Regions from separate parts of the Homo sapiens genome. Here all the other regions are linked to region 3. Evidence: promoter capture Hi-C in 16 types of primary human blood cells and fetal thymus (Javierre and others, 2016). All regions are on one chromosome and are shown on one strand. Each heading gives the region's core, a stretch centred on a gene start or on the middle of the fragment in contact. The rest is flanking DNA. Distances are from core to core; before and after follow the strand shown. Region 1 overlaps TRMT11 (tRNA methyltransferase 11). Region 2 overlaps TRMT11 (tRNA methyltransferase 11). Region 3 holds the start of CENPW (centromere protein W).

Evidence for each region. Contacts are between HindIII fragments. The CHiCAGO score rates a contact against its expected background, and 5 or more counts as called.
Region 1: a contact is called between a fragment that was not itself captured here and the fragment with the promoter of CENPW in region 3, in 1 of 17 cell types (erythroblasts). The highest score is 6.1, in erythroblasts.
Region 2: a contact is called between a fragment that was not itself captured here and the fragment with the promoter of CENPW in region 3, in 1 of 17 cell types (erythroblasts). The highest score is 7.8, in erythroblasts.

Annotation. Positions count from the first base shown.
Region 1 is chr6:126,006,545-126,009,954 of GRCh38, forward strand. It overlaps TRMT11 (tRNA methyltransferase 11), which reads left to right. Exons shown (of 13, transcript NM_001031712.3): 8 at 1,848-1,928. Among named protein-coding and RNA genes, the nearest start is that of TRMT11, 22 kb to the left of the region's middle. The HindIII fragment of the contact is 2,446 bases long and covers 375-2,820 here.
Region 2 is chr6:125,990,099-125,993,602 of GRCh38, forward strand. The region is part of intron 1 of TRMT11 (tRNA methyltransferase 11); the gene reads left to right. Among named protein-coding and RNA genes, the nearest start is that of TRMT11, 5.3 kb to the left of the region's middle. The HindIII fragment of the contact is 1,548 bases long and covers 551-2,098 here.
Region 3 is chr6:126,338,547-126,342,102 of GRCh38, forward strand. CENPW (centromere protein W) reads left to right here and starts at 1,569. Exons shown (of 3, transcript NM_001012507.4): 1 at 1,569-1,853. The coding sequence starts at 1,728. RefSeq lists enhancers at 1,459-1,728, 1,739-1,788. The HindIII fragment of the contact is 14,002 bases long and covers 1-3,556 here.

The DNA.
Region 1 (3,410 bases), core at 348-2,847, 330 kb before region 3:
CGCAAAAAGAAATGGGTGAGTCATGTTACTTGCCTCCTTGACACTTCACTCTCCTTTTTTTTTTAGCACCCCTTCTTCCACCAAAAAGATCCCCTAAAAAACTCCAACTGAGGTATAGCTAAATGTAAAAAGTGCTTCAATTTAATCAAAAGAACAACTAGATGACTACCAATGATTACCCAGTGACCAGTTCAGATAAGCTAATTTATTATGATTTTATTTAAAAAAAAATAAAAGCTTAAAGGGCACGAAGTTAAGTATCAGGTGCAGTCTAACAGATTATTCATCTCCTTTCAGCAGTGTACTTGTAAATTGGGTCTTCTCAAAACTCACTCTAACCAAATGGATAAGGTTCTGTTAAGGAAGCACAGGAAAGCTTTTCTGTTCCCCTTGACAACTAGTTCTTCTAGGTGAGTATCTGCCTTAATTGGCAGAATTGTAGTAATTCCTTGTAATTTGGGTGAAGTGACTTTGTGAGTATTCCAAGTCATCACTTATGCTGCTTTTTCTAAATATGGAATGTTCCATTTCCAGAGTCAGAATTATGAGGACTTTTTAACCTTCCCTCTCACATAAATGCTTTTTGTAGTTAGTATGAGAGGACATAGGTTTTGGTTTCTGCTGTACTTTTAGTCTTTCATTTCTCTTCTTCATGGGTTCTAAAAAGAACTAGTCAGTTATAATATTTTCATGAACAAAGTATTTTTAATTCCATGCTACCAGACTATGTTTTAAATGGCTATGGAAGGAACATCATTAATTTATGGATCTTGACCCTCCAGAGGCACTACCCATCTTAGTTACAGAGATTACATCTCAAAAGGTTATAAGGGAAAGAGCCCCAGTATTTTTTCCCCTTGTCCAAGTCTGTGCATATTTTGTAGTTGAAGAATATATTTATGATTTCAGCTTGACTAGCAGGCCTTCCTAGAGTATAGCTAATTAAGACTTGCCCAAGCACTAAAAGCATTTTAATTTGAATGATTAAAAAAAGTGAATTTAATTAAAAGTACAATTATTAAAAGTTCAGTTAATTGTGTACAATTTTTTCTTAATTTAAAAATAGTATTACCTTTCATTTTAAAGAGTTTCATTATTATTTTAACCTTTATTAAGATTTCTCTTCATGCATGAGCTGGTCACATCTGTCACATTACTTTGTCTGGTCAGATTGTATTGGGACAGTTGTTCTTACTTTGGTCACAGCACTAATAAAAACAGTTTATTAATTATTTTGTGCATGTTTGATAATAGTTACTCAGAAATTTGTATTTACAGTTTAAAACAGGAGATAATTACTTGATTGGTTACAGGAGTAACTATATTAAAATAGTTAATTCTTACAAAAATTAAAATATGTCCTAACCTTTTAATTTCTGTAAGAACTAATGTCTCACATAGTAATTATGCCCTATTTGTTTGAAACTCTGACTTCAGTGGGAATTGAGCCTAGTCATCAGAATTTATTCTGTTTATTGCCAGCTCTTTGTATAAACAGCCTTATATGCTCATTTTTAAGAAAGGAGCAAAATGTTTTTGTGTAGAGCTCTAAAAATAAGATGAAAATGTCTAAATATACATTATTTTGACCAAAAAAAAGATAAAATAGTGCTGTTTAAAATAATGATGCCAGGGTATACATTAATTTCTCTACTTTGTTACCAGTTTAGTGACTATAGCTTAGGGGTTTGTTTTTTCAGTCCTGAGGCTTACTAAATATGTTACGACCAATGTCATTCCAGGATACTCTGCCTGCAGCTAGTTTCTAAGACTGGATGAAGTTAAATAGGAACAAACAGGAGTTTGGGACTTACTGGTTAACAGGTCAAAATTGTGTGATTTTTCAGGTGGCCTGCTGATAGCATGTGCTCATTTTGGTGCATATGTGTATGGGACAGACATAGACTACAACACAGTTCATGGCTTGGGTGAGTAGAGATTATAGACAGTATTATAGTCATTGCTGTGGTGCCAAATGTACCTTTAAACATACAGTTGACCCTGGAAGAACACAAGTTTGAATTGCACAGGTCCACTTATACTCAGATTTATTTCCATCTCTGCCCTCTTGAAACATCAAGGCCAATCCCTCCACTTCCTCTTCCTCCTCAGCCTGCTCAACATGAAGGTGATGAGGATGAAGACCTTTATGATGATCCACTTCCACTTCATGAATAGTAAATCTATTTTTACTGAATAAAGTAAGTATAACAGTAGGCTGTTAGTAGTTAAGTTCTGGGGGAGTCAAAAGTTATATGCATATTTTTGACTGTGTGAGGAGTGGGCACCCCAACCCCATGTTGCTCAAGGGTCAACTGTAGTTTTATATGGCATTATTTTAATCTTCAAATACAAAATTGTGATATAATTTTACTTGTTTTTATAAGACTTCATTGGGTATCTACTTTTATGATCCATTGTGTACAGAGTGATTTCCTGGGGGAACATGAAGGTGAATGAGAAAAAGTCCTGCTCTCAGAGGGCTTTAAGGAAGTGCAGGAAAGTGATAACCCAGTGACCAGTTCAGACCTATAATTTATTAATTATAACTAATTAATAAATATACATGATAATGAAACATATTTGGTTAAGATTATCACCACTCATTTAAAGATTATCACCAAAATTATTCACTAATCATACATTGACTATATACTGGATTAATAACTAGTCTTTGAGGTACTATTTATGTTTCTAATTTTATAACTGACCAAAACCTCTTTAAAGTAACTTTAAAGATTCTGCCTTGAACTGAGAGTACTTGAAACAGTCATCTGCTTTACTTTTCAGGTAATTATGGAAAATATTTTAAACTCTAGAAGCTTCAATAATGATGTGTGATTGGATGGAATTGAATCAAACTGAAAAAGTATTTCCTTATAGCTTAATGGTATTGAAAATGTCATTTTATTGATGATTTTGAGATTATTTGTGTTTATGTTGGTATTCATTATAATAACTGGGATCAGCCCTTATAATACTCTTTTCCTTTTCCTCACCCAGTATAAGTTATTGTATTGGTGAGCATTTATTATACTTTATTTTCTTTTGTGGAAGTAATTTGATATCTTGTACTGGTGACCTGTCTTTTTCCCTACCTTGACTGTAAAGAATTTAGTAACATTTATTAGGAAAATGAGTTATAATTTATTAGGTGTATATAAATGGGCTAGCAAGAAAAAGATATTCTTTATCTGAAATCTGTTTTAAAAAGTACTAAGAATTATTCCAATTTGCTTTTAGTAGAAGCAGTATATTTCTTTTAAGGAAATTGTCTTATATAATTTACTTGAATTTTTATTTATTAAAGTTATGTTTGGAAACTTATGTTGTAACCTTCAGTCTACTGGGGTAGAATTCTGATTGAGGTAGTTCCCTTAGAGCTTATCCAAGATACTGTTAGGTATACC
Region 2 (3,504 bases), core at 75-2,574, 350 kb before region 3:
TGTAGAAAGCGTAGTTATGTTAAAGTATATGATAAAAGGGATCCTGTGGGTCTGTTTCTATTGTTTCTTTTTGTTCTGTTTCATATAGTGGGCTATTTTTAAAATATATGCCAGATGTTGTATTTGAAAATTTATTTGAAAAAATAATTTGAGGGCTGGGATGATGTACATCCTCTTCAAGAAGATAGGAACGCATAGGAGCATGAGGAATCTAGGTTGGGTTTAACTCATTTTCAGGTGTTAAGCCCTGTTTGTGTTCTGATTCCCAGGTACTCACAGAGTGTAGCTTTTTGACATCCTAGTGTAAATTAGGTGGTTCATCAAGTATCCTTTTCTCCTCTGGGGGGCCCTTTCTCTTTTTTTCCCTTTCTATCGGGCACTCAGAAGGGCTGTTCACTCTTGCAGCTGTTTTTGGATTTGTAAATGTCTCAGGGAAAAAGTGGCTCCACCTTGGAATTTTTGTCCTCTCCTGGATGTTGGTTTGGTAATTTTTGTTATCTTTCTATGCCTTCAATTAGATGGCCAGCTTTTCTAGTTCTTTTCAGCAAGAAGCTTAATCTGAATTACCTCTTTTGCCATACCTGGAAGTTGAATTCCTGTCATTGGGTTAGATTTTTTTCAGGGATTGAGGCAGTTTCCATGAAACTTTACTTCTCAAACTGAAGTAATCTTTTACTCTCTTGTACTCTAATACTTTTTTGCTTTTACCTGTTTAAGAACATGTACTGTTTTTTACACTTTACATTTCAGTTGTGAGGTGGTTTTGTTGGTTCTACTAGACCATAATTTCCCTAAGATAAATGTGTGTGTATTTTTACATAGATCAGGGACTTGCACATATTAGTTGCTTAAAAATTTTTTTGGGGGTCCGGGCGCAGTGGCTCACTCCTGTAATTCCAGTACTTTGGGAGGCTGAGGCGGGCGGATCACAAGGTCAGGAGTTCGAGACCAGTCTGGCCAACATAGTGAAACCCCATCTCTACTAAAAATACAAAAAATTAGCCAGATGTGGTGGTGTGCGCCTGTAATCTCAGCTACCCAAGAGGCTGAGGCAGGAGAATCGCATGAACCTGGGAGGTGGAGGTTGCAGTGAGCCGAGATCACACCATCGCACTCCAGCCCGGGTGACAGTGTGAGACTCCATCTCAAAAAAAAAAAAAAAATTTTTTTTGGAGACTGTTCTCTCTCTGTTTTCCAGGCTACAGTGCAGTGGCGTGACCGTGGCTCACTGCAGCCTCAAAGACCCAAGTTAAGCCATCCTCCCACCTTAGCTTCCTGAGTAGCTGGGACTACAGGTGCACCACTATGTCTGGCTAATTTTTTTATTTTTATTTTTGTGGAGCCGGGTGTTAATCAGAGGCTGAGTGTTGGTGTGAGGGGGCGGGAGGGGGTCTTGGGAGCTCTCACTGTGTTGCCAGGGTTGGTCTCAGACTCCCGGTCTCAAGTTATCTCTTTGCCTCGGCCTCCCAAAGTGCTGGGATTGCAGGTGGAGCCGCCATACCTGGCTGCTTAAAATATTAAAATCAGTGATATAGAATCTCTTCTGGGAAAGGCAATGCAAAGGACAGTCTATCCTTTTGGGCCCAGCTACTGCATTAGAACTGATAAGCAAGGAAGCTATAATGAATGGCTGCCTTTATGAATTAAAATGAGAGATCAGGAATATAAGTGTGGTCCAGTTTTACCTCTGATAGAGTTAATCAGGGCTAAGTATAGTTGGCAGCTACTTAATGTAGTACTTATTGTACTAAATAGTGTTTACTAAAGTTCAAACTCCTGGGTTTTATTGCTTGTCCTGAAGCAACCTTTTAAATGGATGAAAAAGCAAGTAGCTGAAATAATAGAAAAGCTCATGGAATTAACGCATCACACATGCCCCAGATCATGCTACATTTTTATATCCAATGTTCAATATAAATTATTTTTTATTCCTAATATAGAAAGAGTCTCAACTGGAAAGTTGAATTTGCCATAAGATTAATGAACATTTTGTGTTTTGCTTTTTCCAAGTAGATTGATGAAGTGGTTTAAACATGTTTTGCTTTTCAATTTGAAACTTGGGTTATCATATTTATTCTCAGTTTTAGGTGGCTGCTTAAGCTTTGGGTAGTAGAGATAATGCTATGCCATAAAACTTTAATCTTTCACTTTTTTTCCCCACCTAACTCTTAGGATCTTTGTGTTTTAGCTTGTTGCAGCTTTTTAACAGTATATTCCAGGAGCAGCAAACTTTGGTGTTTTAACTTGGTTATAGTTGGATGTTTTAAATGTAAAACTGACTTTACAATATGCTTTAATATAGAACAAACAACAATCATGCAAGATGAAGTAATTTAATCTATAACTTTATTTTTTTTCTTTTAAGTGCTATAACTCTATCAGTCTTGGTTGACTTCTTGAGCCACTGGACTTCTAGGACAGTTATCAGGGTCCTCATCATTTTGATTCCCTTAATAACCACCTAGGTTCTATGCTTCTCTCTTTATAGTTCACCTAACCTGATGAGGTAGCTATGATTCCTGTTTCACATTTGAGGGAACTAAAAGTTGGAGGATTTAAGATTCTTGTATAAAGCCACATCGCTAGTATTTGGAAGAGCTGAAAATCAGATTATGGTCTATTTAATTTCTAAGTCTCATGATGTCTCCTATTCAGATTTGTGTTTTCCTTGCTGCAAAATAACCTTTGGGCTGCCTTCACTGATTTATCAGTAGTCTGTGATAGTTCTTGGTCGATCCATCTGATTGGACTGAATTCAGCCCCTTCTAACACTGAATTTTAAAAAATGATTTGTTGCATAGACAAAATAGAAATGGCACTAGTAGCTTGAACTTCTCATTCTTCTTGGTCTTGGAGTGGGGGACTTCCTGGTCTGGGTATAGTTTCCCTTTTGATGGCGGTGGGCTTGGTGTTAAAGGCTCTTCCTTCTGGTTGGGAGGAAAGGGGATAGTAGGTAGCCAGCAGTGGAACACTTACCTCTCATTAGGTTCCATCCTCCATGAGACCTATATGGAAGAGTGTGATTCTACCTGTTTTATGTGATTTAAGGAGATAACTTGTTAGTCATACAAATTATAAAATTTGTATAATTATTTGGGTTTATCAGTACAAAGTGATTGCTTCAAAGAATATAAACACTCTCTGGACAGATTTCAACTTTGCATGAATGATGCTTTTAAAGTATCTATTATGTTAGTTCTGTTTCTAGTTCTGTAACTTTACACAGAAAGAAGATGAGATAGTTATTTGTGCTTAATGAATACATAGTGGTATGCCCTGGCTGATTATTTTTTTCTTTTCCAAACATCTTCAAATCATGTGTCTGATTTTCATTTTAACTTTATTCATCAATCGTCAGTCTTACTAATCTGCACTTTGTGTAACCTGTTTTTTTCCTTTCCAAAATCAGGGAATTTTTTGATCAAGTGTTTGCTAACTCTTCTGTTGTCGAAAATTTCTCAGAAATTACTTACCTGTGGTTTTTATTATTAGATTATTTCTGAA
Region 3 (3,556 bases), core at 319-2,818:
AGATGGGGTGGTGAAAGCATACAGAAAGTCTCCATGGATTTTTTTAAATTTTATTTTGTTGTTGAAGCAATGTCATCACTGGAGATTGAGAATGGGGTAGGTAAGAAATAGAAGGCATGACATAGCTATGTAAGAGAATGAGTAAATGAATGAATGGCTTTAGGAAATATCAAAGGATTGTAGCAGTACTTAGAGCCCACATGAGTGGTCATGAATTTGAATTGAGATCAGACATATACCTGTGAGTGTTGTTTTCTTATGCCAATATTAATACACAGATACAAGTGTTGAATAGATTGAGATTTTAACTTAAGCAGAGTTGGAATATTGCCAGGTTAGTGTGAGGATAAAAGAGAATGGCTATAAAGTTGTGGAGAAATACAGGGCAGTATTATGATGATCGATGCATAATGGACTACAGGAGGGAAGATAAGGCATAGAGTGGGGTGGCAGAGCTGGGGGGTGTGGTGAGAGGAACTGAAAAAGATAGGACAGTAGTCCCAGTAGCATCGAAGAATTGTTGGAGGGAGTAAATTCAAAAGATAGAAGATACGGTTGAAGAGAGACAACTAAATTGAAAGTGGCAGATCAAACCGAAGGTAAAGGTATTTAGTAATGACACCGCCTAGGGTATGACCACATGCATGAATAACTCAAGGGTGTAGAAGATGACTGGCAGAGAGGAGGTCTCAGAAATGGGAGGCCAGATAGTAGAAGGATCACTTGTGTGCGTGAGATCACAATAACATAATATTGAAATCTCAATAGAGATAGTATTAGAGATAATTATAATTAAAATCACAGCGGATCTCAAAGATTGGTCTGCAGACTAGCAAATGCCAATGTCCCTGACTTGTTAGAATTGCAAATTTTGAGTATCTCCTAGATCTAGTGAATGAGAAACTGGGAGCTGGGCCCTGCGAACAGTAGTTTAACAAGTCCCCCAGGTGATTTTGATGCACATTAAGGTTTGATAACTATTAATACTTCTATAATAGCACAGATAATAGAGAAATTAACAGCTTGAAGAAATAACAAAAAGTTCAGTGAGTTAGCATGAAACTATACCTGAAAGTTATTGCAAGGTTAAGTGAGAGGAACCTTAAAATTAAAGGGAGCAGCATTTGTAAAGAAAAGCTAGAATCATGAAAAGACCTAAGATAAGATCAAATGAAATTACGTAGAAGTGTAAAATTCTTAACTGTTAGTATCTGAAAATCATGCATTCCTTGCTAGGAAGGCATGGCATTAGTGCTGTCGGAATCCTGATAAAACATCACAAACTTCTGTTCGTTGGTATTAGGGACAGTATAGAGTGAGTGCTTGAAGAACTGCCTTGGCTTACCAATCTCTCTCTCCACAACTTCCAATCATCTCTAGGGAACCTAGCAGAAACACTTCCACAGAGCAAAAGTTATAATACAGAAAGTGATGAAAGGAGGACGCAGGCTCTCAATGACGTCAGGTATTCCCGGGACCCGCCCACCGTGGGCGTTTTCCACCTACAGGCAGGCGTCTCCGGGGGCGGGGCTTGCTCAGGGTTAACGTCACTACTGAGCGCCGGGCGCGTTCCGTTGGCGGCGGATTCGAACGTTCGGACTGAGGTTTTTCTGCCTGAAGAAGCGTCATACGGACCGGATTGTTTTCGCTGGCCCAGTGTCCCCGGAGCTTGTGTGCGATACAGAGAGCACCTCGGAAGCTGAGGCAGCTGGTACTTGACAGAGAGGATGGCGCTGTCGACCATAGTCTCCCAGAGGAAGCAGATAAAGCGGAAGGCTCCCCGTGGCTTTCTAAAGCGAGTCTTCAAGCGAAAGAAGCCTCAACTTCGTCTGGAGAAAAGTGGTGACTTATTGGTGAGATTCCATCCCTTCTCGGGCTGGGAATGGGGCACGGGAGAGGTAAGGGCAATAACCTTAAGCCTTTGTTTTTCCGCCCCGAGCCAATTTATAGCTCTTTCAGGCCCCTGTTTAAGGCAGTTCCAACAATGACAGGGAACGTATGCCCCACCCTGGCATGTCAGTTCATATTCCTGGCGCTCAGTTGTACCGGGCCGCGCCGAAAAGTAAATATCTGGATCTTTTTAAAGGGAGACTGTTAGTCACATGAGCTTAACGTACAGTTACTGCTTACAGTTTTAAATATTGCTGTTTAGGAACACAATCTGGCACCGTGATTAATGTACTTGCAAAGGGTATGAAAGAATCACCCTTTAAAAAATAGATTTTGGAATTCAGTCTGGGTCATTTTTATTTAGCTATTGTAAAAGGCATTGCTCACATGCCTTTTAAGGGCCTCCCTTCTTGCCTCCCTCCCTGTCTCCTCTTTCCTCCCTTGGCTCCCTCCGTCTCTCCTCTATTTACGCATTTAACCAAACATTGCCTTATTTCCTCTAGGTGAGGGTGCTTACTAAAGGACCCTGATGGGAAAGTTTATTTGTAGGAAGAGTCCTCTCAACTGTTAATTCATTTCGCTAGACAAGTAATAGAACACCTAGTCAGTTTTTAAGCTAGACTACTAAAGCCTGCTTATCTGACCCATAATACCTGAAGCATAATGTTCTCCTAATAAGAAGCCCCAATCAAACCACTGTATAATAATGTTTCTGTCTTGAAATAAATTCAGTTTGTGTGTTGAATACCTGGAACACATATTCCTCTGGCACAATGAACACTATTTCTCTAGGTTTAAACCACTGGAGGCATGTTCGGTAGCTTGTCCTTGGCTCTTTGAGTAAAGGAGCCATTATAAATGGACACATAATTTCCAGGAGATCAAGGTACAGAATTGTGGATAATAAGAGCATACTGCATGAATCATCCTAGCTGTTCTTAAACGACATTGGTTTTTCTACCTCCTCTTTACTCTTTTGCTTCCTGGACTTCTCCACTGCCACCCCATCTGTTGCTTCCTTTTCTAAACTACTATAGAATTATCGCCCCTTTCCCCTTATTTGGTCTCTGAAGCCAAAACACAACAAAAACACATTTTCCCCCAGAAAAGTATTACTTCTATCTTCTGCCCTTATTTTTGTTACTTTCTTAAATCTTGTAAGAAGAGGCAATACAGGCTGTCTTGTGCCCCGACCCCAATTAACTATCCCATGCTGGTGATAGAGGTGGCACAAATGAACGGAATTCAAATGAAATTCACTTGCAAAACATTTTTACGTAGTATATTATGGAGCTTTCACTGGGGCTTCTAAATGGAGGGAGAGGAAATGTACCTGATCAAAGATATCCAAGAGACCACTAGCTGGTGCAAATGGCTTAGTGGAAATTCCTCAGGTAGTCAGCATCCTCCCACATCTACCCCTTTCTTCCTCCAAAGAACCCATGGACAGAGGGGCTCCATAGTGCGGTGGGATCCAGGTGGCATGGGAAAGTGGGTGAGTTGAAATTTCAAGCGGTTGCATTGATGGGGTATAGAATGTTCTTTTGGTCAGTAGCTTTTCCCAGGTAGTATGCTCGTCGTGTTTGGCTTTCATTAAACAGTTCGCCTTCACTGTCTTGAATGTGGCATGGATTACCCTGGTTTCTTTATAGCTTTCTGCTCACCT